Regions from separate parts of the Homo sapiens genome. Here regions 1, 2, 3, 4 and 6 are each linked to region 5. Evidence: promoter capture Hi-C in 16 types of primary human blood cells and fetal thymus (Javierre and others, 2016). All regions are on one chromosome and are shown on one strand. The core of a region is centred on a gene start or on the middle of the fragment in contact, and the rest is flanking DNA. Distances in the headings are between cores, read along the strand shown. Region 1 overlaps LINC01695 (long intergenic non-protein coding RNA 1695). Region 2 has its middle 49 kb from the start of LINC01695. Region 3 has its middle 1.6 kb from the start of LINC01695. Region 4 has its middle 86 kb from the start of LINC01695. Region 5 holds the start of ADAMTS1 (ADAM metallopeptidase with thrombospondin type 1 motif 1). Region 6 overlaps LINC01697 (long intergenic non-protein coding RNA 1697).

Region 1 (2,995 bases), core at 355-2,854, 1.3 Mb after region 5:
TCAGCAAAATGTCGATCAAAGTAACTTATGGCTTTTTTGCAGAAATTGACAGGCTAATCCTAAAATTCACATGAAAATTTAAAGGTAGCCAAAACAATCTTGAAAAAGGAGAACAAAGTTAAAGGAGTTTCACTTTTTCATTTCAAGACTTATTTCAAAGCTACAGTCATCAAGACAGTGCTGTAGTGGCATAAGAATAGACAAATACATTAATATAATCTAATTAAGAGTCCAGATGTAAACCCTTACAATTTGCAGCCAATTTATTTCAAACAAGGATCCCAACACAATTCAATGGGGAGAATAACAGACATTTCAGCAAAAGGTATCTACATGCAAAAGAATGAATTTGGTCAGCTTCCTTATATTTCAAGTGGATGAAATCTAAATATAAAAGCTATAAAATTCTTGAAAGGAAACATAGGCATACATCATGATTTGAGGTAAAAAAAAGAAAAAATGATAATTTGAACTTTATGAAAATTGAACTTTCGAGTTGCAAAAGAATATCATCAAGAAAATGAACAGTGGTCCATTTTTCACTGCTCCATGTGCTCTGTTGCAGGAGATCAAGATAACTCCACCACAGCGTCTGTCACCCTGTGACCAACAGGTAGCCAAAACAATCTTGAAAAAGGAGAACAAAGTTGGAGGGCTTCTACTTTTTACTTTCAAATCTTACTGCAAATCTACAGTAATCAAGACAATGTGGTACTGGAAGCAGGGAAATGATGGCCAACTAGAGACAAAAGATGCAAGCTTCCCTCAGAAAGATCAAAATTATAAGTGAATGGTCATTCCAGGAGTGGAAAGCTGAGGAAAGAGTGCTGAAACCTGTCAGACAACCCATGGGAAGAAGCTGGAGTGCAGAAAGGGAAGGCAGCAAGAATCTGGCAGAGATTGGACTCCAGGGAACCTGGAGTCCCATGCAAAGGATAGGGGTGGGTATTCTTTTCTCTCCTCTCCCCTGCAACAAACTGCTGACCACTGAATTGTCCAGGAGCCTCTCTGCCCTCTTGAGCCCAGGACTCAAGGACTACTGTCCTTGACAATTTGCGAGCTTCCTGGGGGCAGAGCACCAGGTGACCAGCTCCTGCAAGTGCACTAGCACTCCGTCATACCCAAATTGAGGCAGCAGACACTGTACTGGTTGTGCCTCCATCAAGGACAACTACCTGGGGAATCTCAGGGTTGCCTTATCCCCAGATGCCCCACAAATGTTCTCCAGAATCTGCTCTGGCTTTGGCAGTCATGGGGGACCAGTGATTCCCTGGAGATCTAGCCCTTAGGATGGACAGCCCCTAGGGGAGGGGAGCGTGCCTCACCAAATCCCCCTTGGGATAAAGGAATCACAGCATAGTGCAGTTCTCCCAAGAGGGGAAGCATTGTTCTGTCCCAGCTGTACTAGTTTGTTCTCACACTGCTAATAAAGACATGCCTGAGACTGGGTGATTTATGAAGGAAACTGGTTTAATTTGACTCACAGTTCCACATGGCTGGGGATGCTCCACAATCATGGCAGAAGGTGAATGAGGAACAAAGTCACGTCTTACATGGAGGTAGGCAGGAGAACATGTGCAGGGGAACTCCCCTTTATAAAACCATCAGATCTCATAAGACTTATTCACTATCACAAGAACAGCATGGGAAAAACACACTTCCATGATTCAATTACCTCCAGCCAGGTCCCTCCCACAACACGTGGGGTTATTACAATTCAAGGTGATATTTGGGTGGGGACACAGAGGCAAACCATATCACCAGCAGACAAGCAGCACTAGTGGCTGGGAGCAGACATGGAGAGGGTACCACCTCTTACTCCCTCACACTGCTGCAGACACAGCTGAGGCCTTTCCTGCTGGGGGCTGGCACAAGTGCGCTTAGAGACAGCCTTTCCAGTGCTATTCATGGCTGCTGCACCCAGGTTGAAAGTGTGCTTGTGGTCCTGGGTGTCAGGAAGTGTAGGATAATCTCCTGCTCCCTACACCAAGTGGCAGCATTCCTGCCATCGAGGGCAGCTTCAGAGCTCCTTTTTTTTTGGATTGGGGGGAAGGTGTTCTGCCCTGAGTCCATGTCAGAGGTAGCCACAAGAGGGGCATTTCCCACAGACCTCAGATGCATTGAGGCCCAGAGAGAAAGGACAGGGTATATCTAAACTGAAGTTCATGAGCCCTATTCACTAACAGGGGCCTGATAGTGAACTAAATCATGTTTCTTCCTGCTCAGGACAAAGAGCTGAGACAGCCCCTTCTCTCTCACCCCAGACCTCAGTGCCTCCCACCAAGAACTTCCTCTGCTATCCTGTCGGGGTGGGTGCTTCCACTCATCATCAGTGTTCCCGATGGCAAGCTAACCCTTGCTCTTAAATCACCACCTACTGGACTGGAGACCAAACTGCAATACCAAATAAAAACCTTGCTGACAGAAGGCCACAGTACCAGGGTACAAAAGAAGCTTCCTGAGACACCTGCATTCCCAGCCCCACAGAAGATAGTGAGTCAGCTCATCCACCCAGTACATAGCTACAACAAGTAGAATTTGAGGAAGCCATGAGGCAAAAGCTATCTATAACAAATGAACCCACACAGAGCCTTGGTCCCCTGAAAGCACCCAGAAACAAAGCCAAATGATCACATACAACATACATTACAGTCAGCCCCTCAAGGGAGAAACATTTTTTTTAAAGTCCCAATTAAATGATAGCAATTCCAAAAATAAGAAGTGACAGCTTCTTCAGATGAGAAGAAATCAGCACAAAAACTCTTGACAATACAAAAAGACAGAGTATTTCAACACCCCCAGGGAACTATGCTAGCTCTATGGCAATGGATTCTAACCAAAATGAAACTTCTAAAATGGCAGATAAAGAATTCAAAATGTGAATTGTAAGGAAGCTCAGTGAAATCCAAGAGAAAGTTGAAAACCAACAGAAATAAACCAAAAAGGCAATTTAGGATATGAAAGATGTGATAGATATAGGTTAAAAAAAAGAAAA
Region 2 (2,700 bases), core at 170-2,669, 1.4 Mb after region 5:
TCAGAATGTCTGCTTGGTTGAGTTCTGATAAGGGCCCTCTTTCAGGTTGCAGATCACCAACTTCTCATTGCATCCTCCTATGACAGAAAGAGAGCTAGCTCTCTGCACTACATATAATGGCACTAACCCATTCATGAGAGCTGCACCCTCAAGACCTAATTACTTCTCAAAGGCCCCACCTCTAAATATCATCACATTGGGATTAGGGTTTCAATATATGAATTTGGAGTAGGAGGGAAATACAAACATTCAATCATTTGATTTGGTCAATAATTGTTTGTTGAATAAATAAAAGCCTGAAATATGATGATTCAACATAGTGAGACATATAAGAAGAAAGCAAGAAATAAAATATTCTGAGACAATGCGAAACAAATAAGGCATCACCGCACAGACTCATAAAATAATTATGTGGAATTGAATACCCTCTATATGCCAGGTTGTATGTTAAGAGCTTATTTCAATGCTAGACTGAGGCACTAATTATGACTCCCATTTTATACATGATGAAAATGAGACTTAGAGTGTATAGTACACAGAATAATGTTCTCTCAAAGACATGCCTGTCCTGATCAGCAGAATTTGTGAATATATTACTTTACATGGCAAAATGGATATTGCAGGCATGATTTAAGTTAAGGGTCTTGAGATAGAAAAGTTATTTTGAATTATCCAGGTGTGCCAATGTTATCACAAAATCCCTTATAAGGTAATGAGAGGAGGAAGAAGATGTGAAGAGAGGAGCAGAGTTCAGAGAGAAAGAGTAAGAGAGAGTTAAAGTTGCTATGCTGCTGATCTTGAAGACAGAGAGTGGGGCTGTGAGCCAAGGAATGTAGGTGGCCTCCAGAAGCTGGAAAAGGCAAGGGAACAGATGTTGCCCTGGTGCCTTCAAAAGCAATGCAGCCCTGACAATATCTGGATTTTAGGGCTCTGACCTCCACAAACATAATACAATGAATTTGTATTGTTTTATATTTCAAAGTTTATAGTAATTTGTTACAGCAACAATAGGAAATTAATTCCTTAATACAGAAGGATTAAGGAATTTTCTCAATGATCTCATTTTCTCAGTGAGGGTCAGCTGAAACCCAGGCATCTCTGACACTGAGTTTTGTCATTTCTCCCATCTTAGTAGCAGGAAAGTCACTCAGAAAATAGATAAATCCACACTTGTAAAATGGAAGTGTCTCAACCTACTTAACAGGAATTAGGCATTTTTAACATGCTGCCAATAATGGTGAAAAAAATGAACCAGATAAATCTATATGACTGAAAAACTGCTACCTGTTTCTAAGTACCGAGAGAAAAACTGTTCATCCAATTTTGTTAAGCTTAAATTCTCACCAGACATATATCCTTTTACTGTGGACTCAAATTTGATCACTATTCAAGTCTTTTTCAATGTCTTCTCTATGGTTGGCTTACCTCCTAAGCAGATAAAAATTGATTTTCTAATTCTGTATGACTTGTTGCACAATATATCTTTTTGTATGTACACAAAACTCTGAAAGCTTACTTAAACTCTGTTAGCTCATGGTTAGCCTCAAATTTACACCAACTTAAGAATTATTTTTTCTACTAAATGTTGTTTAATAATCATTGTTTTATTTTTATTGCCAAATTCTAGTTTTAAAAATGGTTGGTAGGAATGTAAATTAGTTCAACCCCTATGAAACACAGTATAGAGAAATCGCAAAGCACTAAAAATAGAACTACCATTCCACCAGCAATTACATTACTTGGCATCTCCCCAAAGAAAAAGAAAGCATTATATAAAAAAAGACACCTGCATTTGGATGTTTATTGCAGCACTATTCACAATAGAGAAGTCATGGAACCACCCTAAGTGCCCATCAATGGTTGCTTGGATAATGGAATATCATACAGCCATAATAAACAATAAGATCATATCCTTTGCAGCAGCATGAATGGAGCTAGAGGTCATTATCCTGAGTAAACTAACTCAGAAGCAGAAGATCAAATATCATGTATTCTCCCTAATAAGTAGAAGCTTAGCAATGGGCAGACATGAACATCAAGATGGAGATAATAGACACTGGGAACTCCAAAAGCGTAGACAATAAGAGGTGAGTGAGGATTGAAAAATTGCCTATTTGGTACAATGTTTAATACTTGGGTGATGGGCACACTAGAATTGCGTTCCCCACAATTACCCATGTAATACCCATGTAAGAAACAAGCACATGTAGCCCCTGAGCCTAAAATAAAATAAAATTTTTAAGTCCTCAATATAATCTATTTATTTCTGAGTTAAATAAAATATTTTAAGAGAGATAAATGTTTCAACAAAAATATATTTGTACATATCAGCATTTTTATTAATAAAAATATTTGCCTTATTTTGACTTAATAATGTATATAATATCAGAGATATTAAAATGTACAATATACAATTAAGATATACAATATACAATTAAGATATACAATATCTGAGATACTTTCTCAGATTTTACTGGGGCTTGGAGTGAGTGAAGAATCCAATCCATAGCCCTTGTTTTCAAGGAGTTTGGTTAGGAAATCAGAATATATTGTCGAAATACAATTCATAAACAAATCCCTGAATCCAAAATATCCTAAAGGTACTATACCCTCTCTTTAAACCATTCTCCAAACTGCAATCATAACAAGTCAGATTCCAGTTTTGTTTTACTTCCGTATCTTTTTTGGAAGAGTCAGCTT
Region 3 (2,786 bases), core at 90-2,589, 1.4 Mb after region 5:
TGTTAATAACACTTTCTAACTGCTTGACATTCAGCTAAATACTTAACCTAAGATTCCTCAGTTACATGAAGGTAATAATGGTTGCTACCTCAAATGGCTCTTGTGAGGATTAAATGAGGTAATGCTTGTATACAGTGCAAAGTATAGAGTAAGTATCAATGAAGGTAAAATACTGGTGATTTTTCATACTCTCTACATAATTTTAAATTGTGTTTCTTTGGTTAATTACTTTTGGCTGTTACTTTTTTTGTTGGTAGTGAATTTAAGAACCATGAGAAGAATGTTATCCAGCAAATGCTGTATACTTTAACATGCTTATAAAGACTTTTTAAAAGTAGCTTCATGTATCCCTTCTTCATTTTTATAGTGGCAATTTAAGCTAACTAGCTGGCATTTTATCATGCATTTACAGATCCACAACTCTAGTAAATAAAGTTATCAGACAGGAATACAATTCAGAAATATATTTAAAGAGCAAAGCTTATTTTTCTAAGAATTTTACTTTGTTGATTTAAAAAAACAATATTTTATTGTCTTATCTAAGTGAATTTCATATCCATGACAAGTTTGTTAATGTTATTTAATCCCCTCAGCATATCAATTTAAAGATCAAAGGTTAAAATTTTATAAAACAAATTGTGAGGTAATGCAATGTCAATCTTGTAATGTTTTATGAGAATAATGCAATTAAATTATAATATATAAAATTCTTACATTTCTAATCAAAGCTTCATAAAATGAACATATTGTATAGAGTGATTACAAACTGAAAAAACAATTTTCTTAAATAGAAGATGTGACAGAACATAGTTAAGAGGATTTACTAGGTAATACATTTTGAGGACTTCTTAAAACAATAAACTACACATCTTTAATATTTTTAAAACTGCCAGAAGTCTGTATTTAATATAGGATCATGCTGTATTTTTGAACCTCTGTTTTGTTGTAATGATATCATACTGAAATGTAATGCAAAGTAAAATGTATACAATGTAAAACGCAAGTCTTACATATGTTGCTATTGGATACACTGCTTATAAAGCTAAGGATAAAAGATAACTCTAAACTCTGAGTCATACAACAGTTATAAAGCAAATATGCACATTTATATCTCAAAAGATAAAATTGCAACTGTTACTAAGCAGGAGTAAATTCTTTGCTGAATCATCCTTATTGCAAACATGTTTTGTCATTAGTGGCTAGATTGCCCAATTCAATTTTCCTACGTATCAATCAGTGCCTAACGTTTTAATTTTACTAACCCCTTTGGAACTATTATCACATCCTAATATTAATGCCAATTGTAGTAATTGTGCGCTAAATTCCCTTTGCCTCTAAAACATATCTTTTCCATAAATGTATGTGAACATTTCTGAAGACTCATTTTTACTAACATGTATTTTATTATATAAACAGAAATATGTATGACAAATATATAAAATAACAGACATTAATCATACATTAAGATACTATTATAAAACGGAAATATTTGGAAATTCACCTTAGAAGTTTTAAAAGGAGTTGACAAAGAGTTTAAGTTTGTTTTTCTACCAGTCTGTAATATTTATGAAGTCAGACAGATCTGTGTTCTCCTGTATGTAGCCCTAAACACCAAGCCCAATGCTTGGAATTTAATAGAGGACCAATGAGAATTTGTTGAATTGAAACCAATTGATCCTTATTATGCTTTCTAGAAACAGGGAAAAGAAAAAATTTGAAAGACTTGGTAATTTCTCTTTCACAAAATGATCATTCAAGTAGATATTAATAGAAACAGCTTTCACGATTCCCTAATCTTTTTTGCCCTGGCAGGATGTTGTCTATTTCCTTTCTTTCCAAACTCCATGCCATTTCATAGCTCATCTCCAGAAGTTTCTTTATGCTAGGGTGATTCATGGCCCAAGAGTCTGTTATGATTTTCCTTACCTAGGGCATTACATTAGAAAAAATGAAGCTTAAAATCACATTAATTATATGATATTAAATAGACATAGCTACATTTAAACAATGATGTATACATTATGATTAAACTATTTGACTTATTTACTTGTGTTGCCAGGGTTTGGAAGAGAATATGCAACAATTAGAATTATGTAATGTTGATGGCATTATGATAATTTTTATCCCTACTGCTGCACAAACTTATAATTAAAGTTAAAACAATTTCTCTATGCCTGGTAACTACTTCATATTATTAATTTATATGGAGTTTGAAATCGATCAAAAGCCATCTACCTGTCTTTTGCAAATAAACTGTCCTTAGTCCACCTCTTTACACATCCTGGATTTATATAGCTAATGTCTTCAAAATAGTATAGGATTTCACATTTGAAGTTTAATTTTCATATAGTCAATTTTATTTCAGCCTATGGATATCCTTTTAAATATTCTTACAAATTAGCTATCCCTTCTAGCTTTGGGCAATATGAAAATACTACATGTAATTTATTTAAATAAAATAACACACATGCACACAAATAAGTTAGATGAGGCCACATGCATTTCATCTGTCTTAGCCAGTTTGGACTGCTATACCAAAATACCATAGACTGAGTGGCTTAAATTATAGACTTATTCTCACACTTCTGAAGATCCAGGTGCTGCCGCATTTGGTTTCTGGTGAGTACTGTCTTCTTGGTTTGCAGACAGCCAGCTTCTGGCTATATCCTCATGTAGTAGACAAACAGAATATCTTTCTCCTCTCTCTTCTTATGAAGGCACTAATGCCATTTATGAGGGCTGTACCCTCATAACTTAATCACTCCCAAAAGACTCACTTCAAAATA
Region 4 (2,856 bases), core at 256-2,755, 1.5 Mb after region 5:
AAGTGCTTAAAGCAAAAGAATGTCAACCAAGAATTGAATATCCAGCAAAACTAACCTTCAAAAATTAAAGAGAGATTAAGATATCCCCAGGCCAAAAAAAAAAAAAAAGAAAAAAAGAAAAAAAAGGAAATTTGTAACTAACAGACCTATACTACCATAAATACTGAAGCAACTCCTTCAGAATCAAATGAAAAGAAGTTAGACAGTAATTCAAATCCACATGAACATTTTTCAGGCCTGGAAATAGGCACCTGAAAAGGCTTTACCTGGCAGGCCTCATGGGGAAATCTACTCTCCCCACACCAAACTTGACATACAGACCGTGCATTGAAGTCTCTGGCAAAAGTTGCAGCCAAGAACTCAGGCCTCTCTGGCTGGTCATGCTCTTATGTGCATTTTATTCATAGCCAAAGGACCTCTATTAGGAAGTCTCCTTATTGGGAAGCCTCAGCTGAGAGATTCCTCAAGCACCTCTATATTTTTATAATGGGATCGCAAAGATAATTTTTCCACTCTGACCCAGTACTTAGGACTCTTTGAATTTTAGCCCTTACCCTTCCACTTTCCCTAGCCCCAGGTCATAAAATGACAGAAGTCCTTTATTCAAGGCTCTCTTGGCAGTTACATATTTTCTCCATCTGTATTGCTACATTTGACCCTCACACACTGCCATTCCATGGGGGAAATGAGAACATTGAGGGAGCCAGCATGCCAGCACTCTTTGCTATTTAGCCTCTTATACTATCACAGTAAGTGAAAAACAGCTCAATTATTATTTATAGCTTAGTTTATTGTCTTAATGAATGTCAACACCCAGCAGCTCAGCTTTCTTCAAAAGAATAAAGAGCACTAGCTGGTGCAGTGGCTCATGCCTGTAATCCCAGCACTTTGAGAGGCCGAGGTGGGTGGATCATGAGGTGGGTGGATCACGAGGTCAGGAGCTCAAGACCAGCCTGGCCAATATGGTGAAACCCCGTCTCTAATAAAAATACAAAAATTAGTCAGGCGTGGTGATGTGCACCTGTAGTCTCAGCTGCTCGGGAGGCTGAGGCAGGAGAATCGCTTGAACCTGGGAGGTGGAAGTTGTAGTGAGCTGAGATTGTGCCATTGCACTCCAGCCTGGGTGACAGAATCAGACCCTATCTCAAAAGAAAAAAAAAAAACAAAAAAACAAAAAAAAACGGAGCACTAGTAAAAGTAACTACACAGGTAAATATAACAGATGTAATAAATGTATTTTTTGTTTCTAACACTTTTCTTTCCCTATCTGATTTAAAGGGCAAATACATAAAGCAATAATCATGAATATGTGTTCATTGGCCTTAATGCATAAAGGTGTAATTCATATGAAAACAATAGCAAGAAGAATTGTAAGGGAACAAAGCTATATTACAGTAAAATTTTTGTATACCACTGAAAGTTGGTATGCATTAATTTAAAATAGATTGTTGACATTAATTTAAAATTGACAGTAATTTAAAATACATTGTCTTAGTTAAGATGTAAATTTTAAGCCCAGGGCAACCATTAAGAAAATAATGCAAAAAAATATAACAAAAGTAACAAAAGGAATTAAAATAGTGTAATACAAATATATAGTTAACACAAACAAAGCAGTAATTGAGTAATGGAGGAACAAAAAACATTATATATATGTTATATGTTTAAATATATATTTATATACATATATATATCCCAAGACCAAAAATAAATAAATTAAAGAAGAAATACATCACTAATAGACCTATACTACATGAAATACTGAAGCAAGTCCTTCAGAATCAAATGAAAGGAAACTAGTCAACAACTCAAATCCACATGAACATAAGGAGTCCAGCTCCAGGCCAAAATCATATATGTGATTTTTTAGGCCTAAAAATAGGCACCTGCATATATATATATATATATACACATACATGTATATGCATGATATAAATCCAACTAGGCACCAAATAAATCCAAAATAGGCACCTACCTATATATAGATATATATATATATGTGTGTATATATATATATATGCAGATATAAATCCAACTTTATCTATATTGCATTAAACAAAAGTATACTAAACTCTCAAACAAGTGGCAGAGATTGGCAGAATGAATTAGAAATCTGATCCAACTATATGTTGTCTGTAAGAAATACACTCAAGATTCAAAAATAGGTAGGTGGAAAGTTAAAAAGATGGAAAAATTATATCATAAAAATAGCAATCAAAAGACAACTGAAATGGTGATACTAATATCAAGCAAAATAGACTTTAAGAAAAATATTATTATTAGAAAAAATAGAACTATGTTTTATAATGATAAAAGGGTCAACCATTCAGGAAGACATAACAATTATAAACATATATGCATCTAACAAGAGAGTCCCAAAATACGTGGAGCCAAAACTGACAATACTACAGGGAGACATAGCCATGTCAAAAAGAATAATGGGACACTTCTATAGCCTCGATTGCAATAATGAATAAAAATAAGCTAAGAAGAATTTCAACAAGGAATTAAAGGAGATTTAACAAATCTATAAGCCAACTAGAGCTAACAGATTTTTATGGAACACTCTACACACAGCAGAAGAATCCACATTCTTCTAAAGTACACAGGTAATATTCTCTAAGATAAACTATATATTACTTCATTAAAACCACAAAAAATTAAAAAGTTGAAAATATACAAAGTATGTTCTTCAACATTAAAGAAATTAAATTATAAAGGGATAACAAAAGGAATTTTGGGAATTTACAAATATGTAGAAATTAAACAACATGCTCCTAGCCAATGGGTCAAAGAAGACATGATAAGGAAAATTACAAAATACTTTGAGATAAAATATTTATAGAATTCTATTAC
Region 5 (2,805 bases), core at 58-2,557:
CTCCGTTCTGTCCGCGGACTTATGATCCTGCCTGCCAGCAGGAGTCTACCCTGAAGTCGCGTGGGATAGATAAAGTGAGGAGAGGAGGATGAATGGACAGACAAACGAGAGCAATTCTTCTACCTGTGGGCTGTCCTACGCCTTGCAGTGCCGGGTCCTGCGGCGACCACTGAGCCCCTTCGTCCTCGCCCTCAGTCCCTTCGTCCTCGTCTTCGGTCTCCGCTTTCCCAGTCGGCCGGGGCTCGTCGTCCACGACCCCGCACGTGCCGCCGACGTCGCCCTGCCGATTCCGCCGCAGGAGGTGGAACTGTAGTGGTGCCGGCGGCTTCTCCCCTGGGGCGGCGGTGGCGAGGCGCTCGCTGGCGGCGGGCAGCGGCTGGATGAAATACGCCTCCCCCAGCAGGTAGAAGGCGCCGCGCACGCCCTCGCAGAGGCTGAGGGCGGCAGCCGAGCTGGGATCGCCATTCACGGTGCCGGAGTAGAAGCAGTGCGCCAGGTCGGTTTCCGGAAGCGGCGTCTCGGACCCGGATTTGCGCCCCACGTTCTGGAGCGTGAAGCCGGGCGCCAAAAAGCTGCTGTCGGGCCGCAGCTCCAGATCCAGCTGCTGGTCAAAGGCGTGCAGGCGGAGGCGCGTGGTCCCGTGTCCCGGGGCGCGCTCCAGCTCCGGCACCACTAGCTCCTCGTCCTCCTCGGAGGGGCGCCCGAGTGCGTCCGACACGGCCAGTAGCGCCGCGGCGAGCAGCAGCAGCGTGGGTACTGGCCCAAAGCTCCGAGACCCCGGAGCCCGCTCCGCGTTCCCCATGTCGCTGCCCAGCTTGCGCCTTCCGAACCCCTCGGGCACAGCTCGCTGCATTGGAGCCCCAGGAGACACCGCTCGTAGCAGCGCACGGAGCGAGGGACCTTTAGTTCGGGTCGGGAGAGCAAAGCCTCGTTGGCCTGCTCTGGATTGTTAAAATTAACAATTTCTATTATTCGTTGGAAGGGCGCGCAGAGCCGGCTACAGCCGAAGCTCCCGGAGTCACTAAAAGGAGGCGCTGCAGTTCTGCCGGCGCGCGGGAAGTTTTTCTTCCAGCGCAAAGTTGGAGACACTGAGAGGCAGGCGCAGGCAGAGTGGCTCTGCTGGGACAAGAAGCGCTCTGGGGCGCCTCCGGGGCTGAGGCAACGCGGAGATTGGTGCCTGGCGCCCCTCTTCGGCCTCCGCCTTGGCTGCGATGTTGCTCACTCTGCTCAGGGCTCTCCCCTCTCCGTCCGGTAGCGCACCCTGGCTTTGCAATAGCCCCTGGCTCGGAGCCGCTTTCCAGCGAGTGCAAGAACCGGGCAGCCGAGCGGTCCTTTTATAGTGGACCAGTGAAACCCCCACCCCCACCCCACTCCTCCCCTTTGGCCCTTTTCCATCCCAAAGACGCCGCCCCCGGCTCCGTTGGTGCTAAACCGCGCTCCGCGCTGCGGGCTCGGGAGGGGGAGGGGGCAGCCTCCGCGCTGGCTCCACGCCACTGCTCGTCAATCTAGGGGCGGAAGGGGCGCTGTGACCAGCACTTTGTACTGCTGGGGCCGCTCCAGGGAGAAGACTCTCCCTTCCACCGCTTTTCTCCCTCGCCGGTTTCCTGGACCACCCTTCCTCCCCACCGCCCGGTTGCGGTAACTCAGTTACCGCGCTGGGCTGCGGTTCCCAGGAGGGAGGGTTCGGTTGGAGAACGCAGTCCCTTCTTCAACATTTCCCTATCCTGGAGCTGCCCTGGGTCTCCTTCCCTCCTCCCTCAGTTCCCTCTTCCCCAATCTAGGAGATGAGCTAGGGCTACACTTTCTAGAAAAATACCTCACCCCACTTCTCCACCTTCCCAGCCTGCCAGGAGCTCCTTAGCCGCCGCCTGCTCTCTCTTCGCCCCAGCTTTTCTAGGGAAAGCTTGGCCCTGCGCTTCCCCCAGAAAGCATGCCTGGGTGAGGGGCCAGGTGACACTTCCTACGATCTGGATTTTAAAATATGTTTGCTTATGCCTTCACCCTCCACCAACCCCCACCCCGCACGCCACCTCTTCACCAGAGACGACTTTGTGAGGGCCCGGTTTCACATTTCTGGAATGGGTGATCTGGGACGCGGCTCAATTCCCTAGAGCATAAGGAGGGAATTGCGCTTTTTCTTCTTCATTCGAGAAATGATCGGCTCCCGCCAGTCTGCGTGCTTTCACTCAACAGCAGCTGCAAGCCCTAGGCCAGCGTCGCAGAAACGGCCAGGAACCCCACTTTCCTACCCGGGGGCCAGCAGCGATCGCTGGGGCTAGCAAGCGTGCAGAGGGGGAAAGAAGGAAATCGGCTTCCTTCCCGGACCCCTCCTTCCTCTTCCTACCAGGAAGGGAAAAGGCTATATCCGCGTTACGAAAGCGAGGAGAGGTCCACCAACAGGTCCTTAGGAAAAAAAACTGAGTGGCTCTTCTCTCCAAAAAGTGGGAGGGGCTCAAGGACCCAGAGGAAGGACGTGTTTCACAGGCGGAAAGCCGCGGGGACAATGGCGAGAGCGACCGCCCTAGCCCCGGGCGGACCCGCAACCCTCACACTCGCGCGCCCCCGCGTTAGTGCTCGAACTGGTCTCCGCCTTTCCGCCCCACTCCCGTCCGGTCTCTTGGTTGGCTCCAAGTAGATCTGGGTCCTTTCCTCGCTCCTCCCCAGATCTTCCCCACTTCAGTTGGCCCCAGCCAGAAGCGTCCCTTCTAGTTCTCCCACACGTCCCTCTTACAAGCTTTCTTTTCCGGATGCTTTCCAACTTCTTTTTTCCTAGCGAGATTGCTTACTTGAAAAACAAAAACAAAA
Region 6 (2,897 bases), core at 19-2,518, 1.2 Mb after region 5:
CCCTCCGGATGGATCTTTGTGTTGCCAGGCAGGAATGGGCTGCTTGGGGACCCAGTGAGCTCCGAGGGCCTTTCTGCTGCTTCCTGTACCCCTGTATTTCGCTCAGCTCTCTGACTTGACTCAGCTCCAGGTAAAGTCGGAAACTTCTCCCACAAACACCTTCAGCTTCTCCAGTGGGGGTGTGTGTTCGGGACACTCCCTTTCCCACTTGCACAGTTGGGACACTCATAGTATTTGGGGTGTCTCCCGGGTCCTGCAGGAGCAGTCCGCTTCCTTCAGAGGGGCTGTGGGTCTTCTTGGGATTGCTACTTTATTCTTGAAGTTGATCTGGAGCTAAAATTCACAGTGCAAGCCTCCGTAGGTTGCTCTGCCTGGAGCTTCAATCTAGTCCTGCCTCCTGTCCATCGTGATCCCCTGAATCTCAGCACACATAGTATTTTTGATAATACATATTTTCCATGAAGTTTTGAAGATCCTATGTATTTAAATTTATTTTCACCAATTTTATTTCTCTTCCTCATATCCCAGAGTTAACTAATTTTCTAAACTTGGTGTTCAGTACTACCATTTTTGTTATTTCACACACTACATAAATATCTAATACAAAAACACTATCTTGTATTGCACTGACAAAATATATACGTATTTTTAGAAACTTCTTGTTTTTCATCTTTATTTGTAATAATTGATTCATGTTGATTCATAAAGCTTTGCTCAGGTATGGTTAAACAACTGCTAAATTCCAGTATTCTATTGTATGAAAACGCCAAAATTTGTCTATCTAATTTTTGACTGATGGTCATTTCTAATTTTGCCTCATAGCAAAAAGTGCTACAGTGAAAATATTTGCTTTATATACAAGTCTTTATATAAAAGTGCAGTGGATTCACTAGGCTACATACCTACACACACATACACATGTAATTTTTTACTTTTTGGGTTAGTGGATTTTTCCCTAGATTTGTGTTGCCAAACTGCTTTCTCTTATGTTGATACTGATTTATATTCCCATCAGATATGGGAATTTATTTCTTTTTTCTTTTCTACATCTGTATCTTCACCTGGTACAGTTACCTTTTTAAATTTTGAGGGAAATGGTTTATCACGTGTGCTTATTGGATTTTTCTCTTCTCATTAGCGAACTGATTTTTCTCCCTGTGCTAATTTAAATTTACTCTTTGGAGAATTACCTGTTATTTTTGTGAACATAAAAAGGTCAAATTGTCAAGGCAGACTCACATGGATTAGTGCTGTTATCCCATGTCAAACTTCACTGATAAGTACAAGGGTACAAGTAAACACAAGCCACTTCCAGAAAAGCAAGGAGTGGCCTGGGACATCTATGACAGCTGCCCAGATCCTTCCTTTTCTTATCATCACACTCTGTCCCAGGTTAATAAATAGGGGGACAATGAAAAATGTAATTTGTGTATTTAATGTTCATTGTTTTTAAATACCATATGCTTAAATTATTATATAACATATAAACATAATATCCCTATTTAAAATAGCAATTATAAATACCAAGATAGAAACCAACAATTCCTCTGCCTTCACACGCCACTCCTATTATCATAAACAGTTCAGTATGAATAGTTTTTCATATCCTTTCAATCCTACTAATTTATGAATAAATAAATTAAAACTTTACTTGGTTATATTGTTTCTAAACACATTAAATCCATACCTATTACAAAAATCTCTAGTTAGTAGTTTAGGTCTATATCAAATTTAAGAGAAAAAATTAAAAAATGCCTTCAATATGAATGATTCCATTGTTAATGATCATTACTTTTTTGTGCATATGTCCTTTCAAATGTTTTTAGTTTAAGCTTTACTAAAATATTTACTATGAGCTGAGTGAAATGATAAGTTTGGTTCAACTGGTAAATTGCTCTATTTTTGCTTAAGACAAACTATCTGATACTGTTCTTTATATTAAGACTCACTTTGTTAAGTGAGAGTTTTCTTAAATGGTCTGTTTCATATAAAATATCTAAATTGTTTAAAGCCCTTACTAAAGTTACTGTATAAAAGTAATTCATACGGACTACATTTCTTGACACTAATGGCATATAAAATAAGCAGTACAAATGCATGAAGAATGAGAGATTTTTGATAACTTGACTTAACGTTTCATAGATTCATTCTGTAGCTAATTAGTTTTTCTTAAATTCTGCTTAGTCTAGTAGCAACTGTGGGCATAACATTTTTGGCATCGCGAATCAGACATTCTAGATTAGTTGGTAATGATAAAATGACTTTTGGTCCTGAACGCTTACTTTATTCTACTTGTATACATCGTGCATAATATTTTTAAGAAGTAAAATATGCAATGAAAAGTATTCTACAGAATAAAAATTCTGGCAGTGAAATGTATTAACAGATATTTGAAGCATATTTTGTAAAATGTGTATTCCTTTGCAGAAAATATAAATTGACGTTATGATGTTCAAATACTATTGATCTTGTGTTGGGTTAAGATTTTTAGGAGTATAGTTTATAGCATTTCAAATATTTTTCTGCAAAGCCAGCATTAAGTTATTTCTAAAAGTTTGATCTATTTAAAAATGCTAAGATCTTGATTATTGGCTCTCTAAATCCTGCAGTTCAGGACATTTTGAACAAGCTGCAGAATTCTAAAAGACAGAATACGTATTGAGAAGAATATAAAATAGCCAAAAGCCAATGGGTTATCCTTATGCCAGTCATAGTATAAAGTATTCAAAAACACTTGTTTAATTTATGTTCCAGCTAATATTTGACAGTTATTACATAGAAACACATAATAATATGATTTATTTTATATGTGAAAAGATAACTTTACAACTTTATGAACAGCAGGTAAATTGAGGAAAGATGCTACTAGCAGTAAATATGCTCACAGTCAGACTGAA

What was found. Contacts are between HindIII fragments. The CHiCAGO score rates a contact against its expected background, and 5 or more counts as called.
Region 1: a contact is called between a fragment that was not itself captured here and the fragment with the promoter of ADAMTS1 in region 5, in 1 of 17 cell types (endothelial precursors). The highest score is 5.6, in endothelial precursors.
Region 2: a fragment that was not itself captured here is called in contact with the fragment with the promoter of ADAMTS1 in region 5 in 1 of 17 cell types (M1 macrophages); the score reaches 5.5 in M1 macrophages.
Region 3: a fragment that was not itself captured here is called in contact with the fragment with the promoter of ADAMTS1 in region 5 in 2 of 17 cell types (megakaryocytes and M0 macrophages); the score reaches 7.5 in megakaryocytes.
Region 4: a contact is called between a fragment that was not itself captured here and the fragment with the promoter of ADAMTS1 in region 5, in 1 of 17 cell types (M1 macrophages). The highest score is 5.2, in M1 macrophages.
Region 6: a contact is called between a fragment that was not itself captured here and the fragment with the promoter of ADAMTS1 in region 5, in 2 of 17 cell types (M0 macrophages and M1 macrophages). The highest score is 7.3, in M0 macrophages.

The regions. Positions count from the first base shown.
Region 1 is chr21:28,191,020-28,194,014 of GRCh38, forward strand. The region is part of intron 3 of LINC01695 (long intergenic non-protein coding RNA 1695); the gene reads right to left. Among named protein-coding and RNA genes, the nearest start is that of LINC01695, 36 kb to the right of the region's middle. The HindIII fragment of the contact is 1,695 bases long and covers 758-2,452 here.
Region 2 is chr21:28,276,058-28,278,757 of GRCh38, forward strand. No RefSeq gene overlaps it. Among named protein-coding and RNA genes, the nearest start is that of LINC01695, 49 kb to the left of the region's middle. The HindIII fragment of the contact is 180 bases long and covers 1,330-1,509 here.
Region 3 is chr21:28,228,881-28,231,666 of GRCh38, forward strand. No RefSeq gene overlaps it. Among named protein-coding and RNA genes, the nearest start is that of LINC01695, 1.6 kb to the left of the region's middle. The HindIII fragment of the contact is 1,226 bases long and covers 727-1,952 here.
Region 4 is chr21:28,312,899-28,315,754 of GRCh38, forward strand. No RefSeq gene overlaps it. Among named protein-coding and RNA genes, the nearest start is that of LINC01695, 86 kb to the left of the region's middle. The HindIII fragment of the contact is 6,920 bases long and covers 1-2,856 here.
Region 5 is chr21:26,844,102-26,846,906 of GRCh38, forward strand. ADAMTS1 (ADAM metallopeptidase with thrombospondin type 1 motif 1) reads right to left here and starts at 1,308. Exons shown (of 9, transcript NM_006988.5): 1 at 124-1,308. The coding sequence starts at 853. RefSeq lists enhancers at 1,492-2,092, 2,093-2,692. The HindIII fragment of the contact is 3,865 bases long and covers 1-1,901 here.
Region 6 is chr21:28,090,392-28,093,288 of GRCh38, forward strand. The region is part of intron 1 of LINC01697 (long intergenic non-protein coding RNA 1697); the gene reads left to right. Among named protein-coding and RNA genes, the nearest start is that of LINC01697, 43 kb to the left of the region's middle. The HindIII fragment of the contact is 1,124 bases long and covers 707-1,830 here.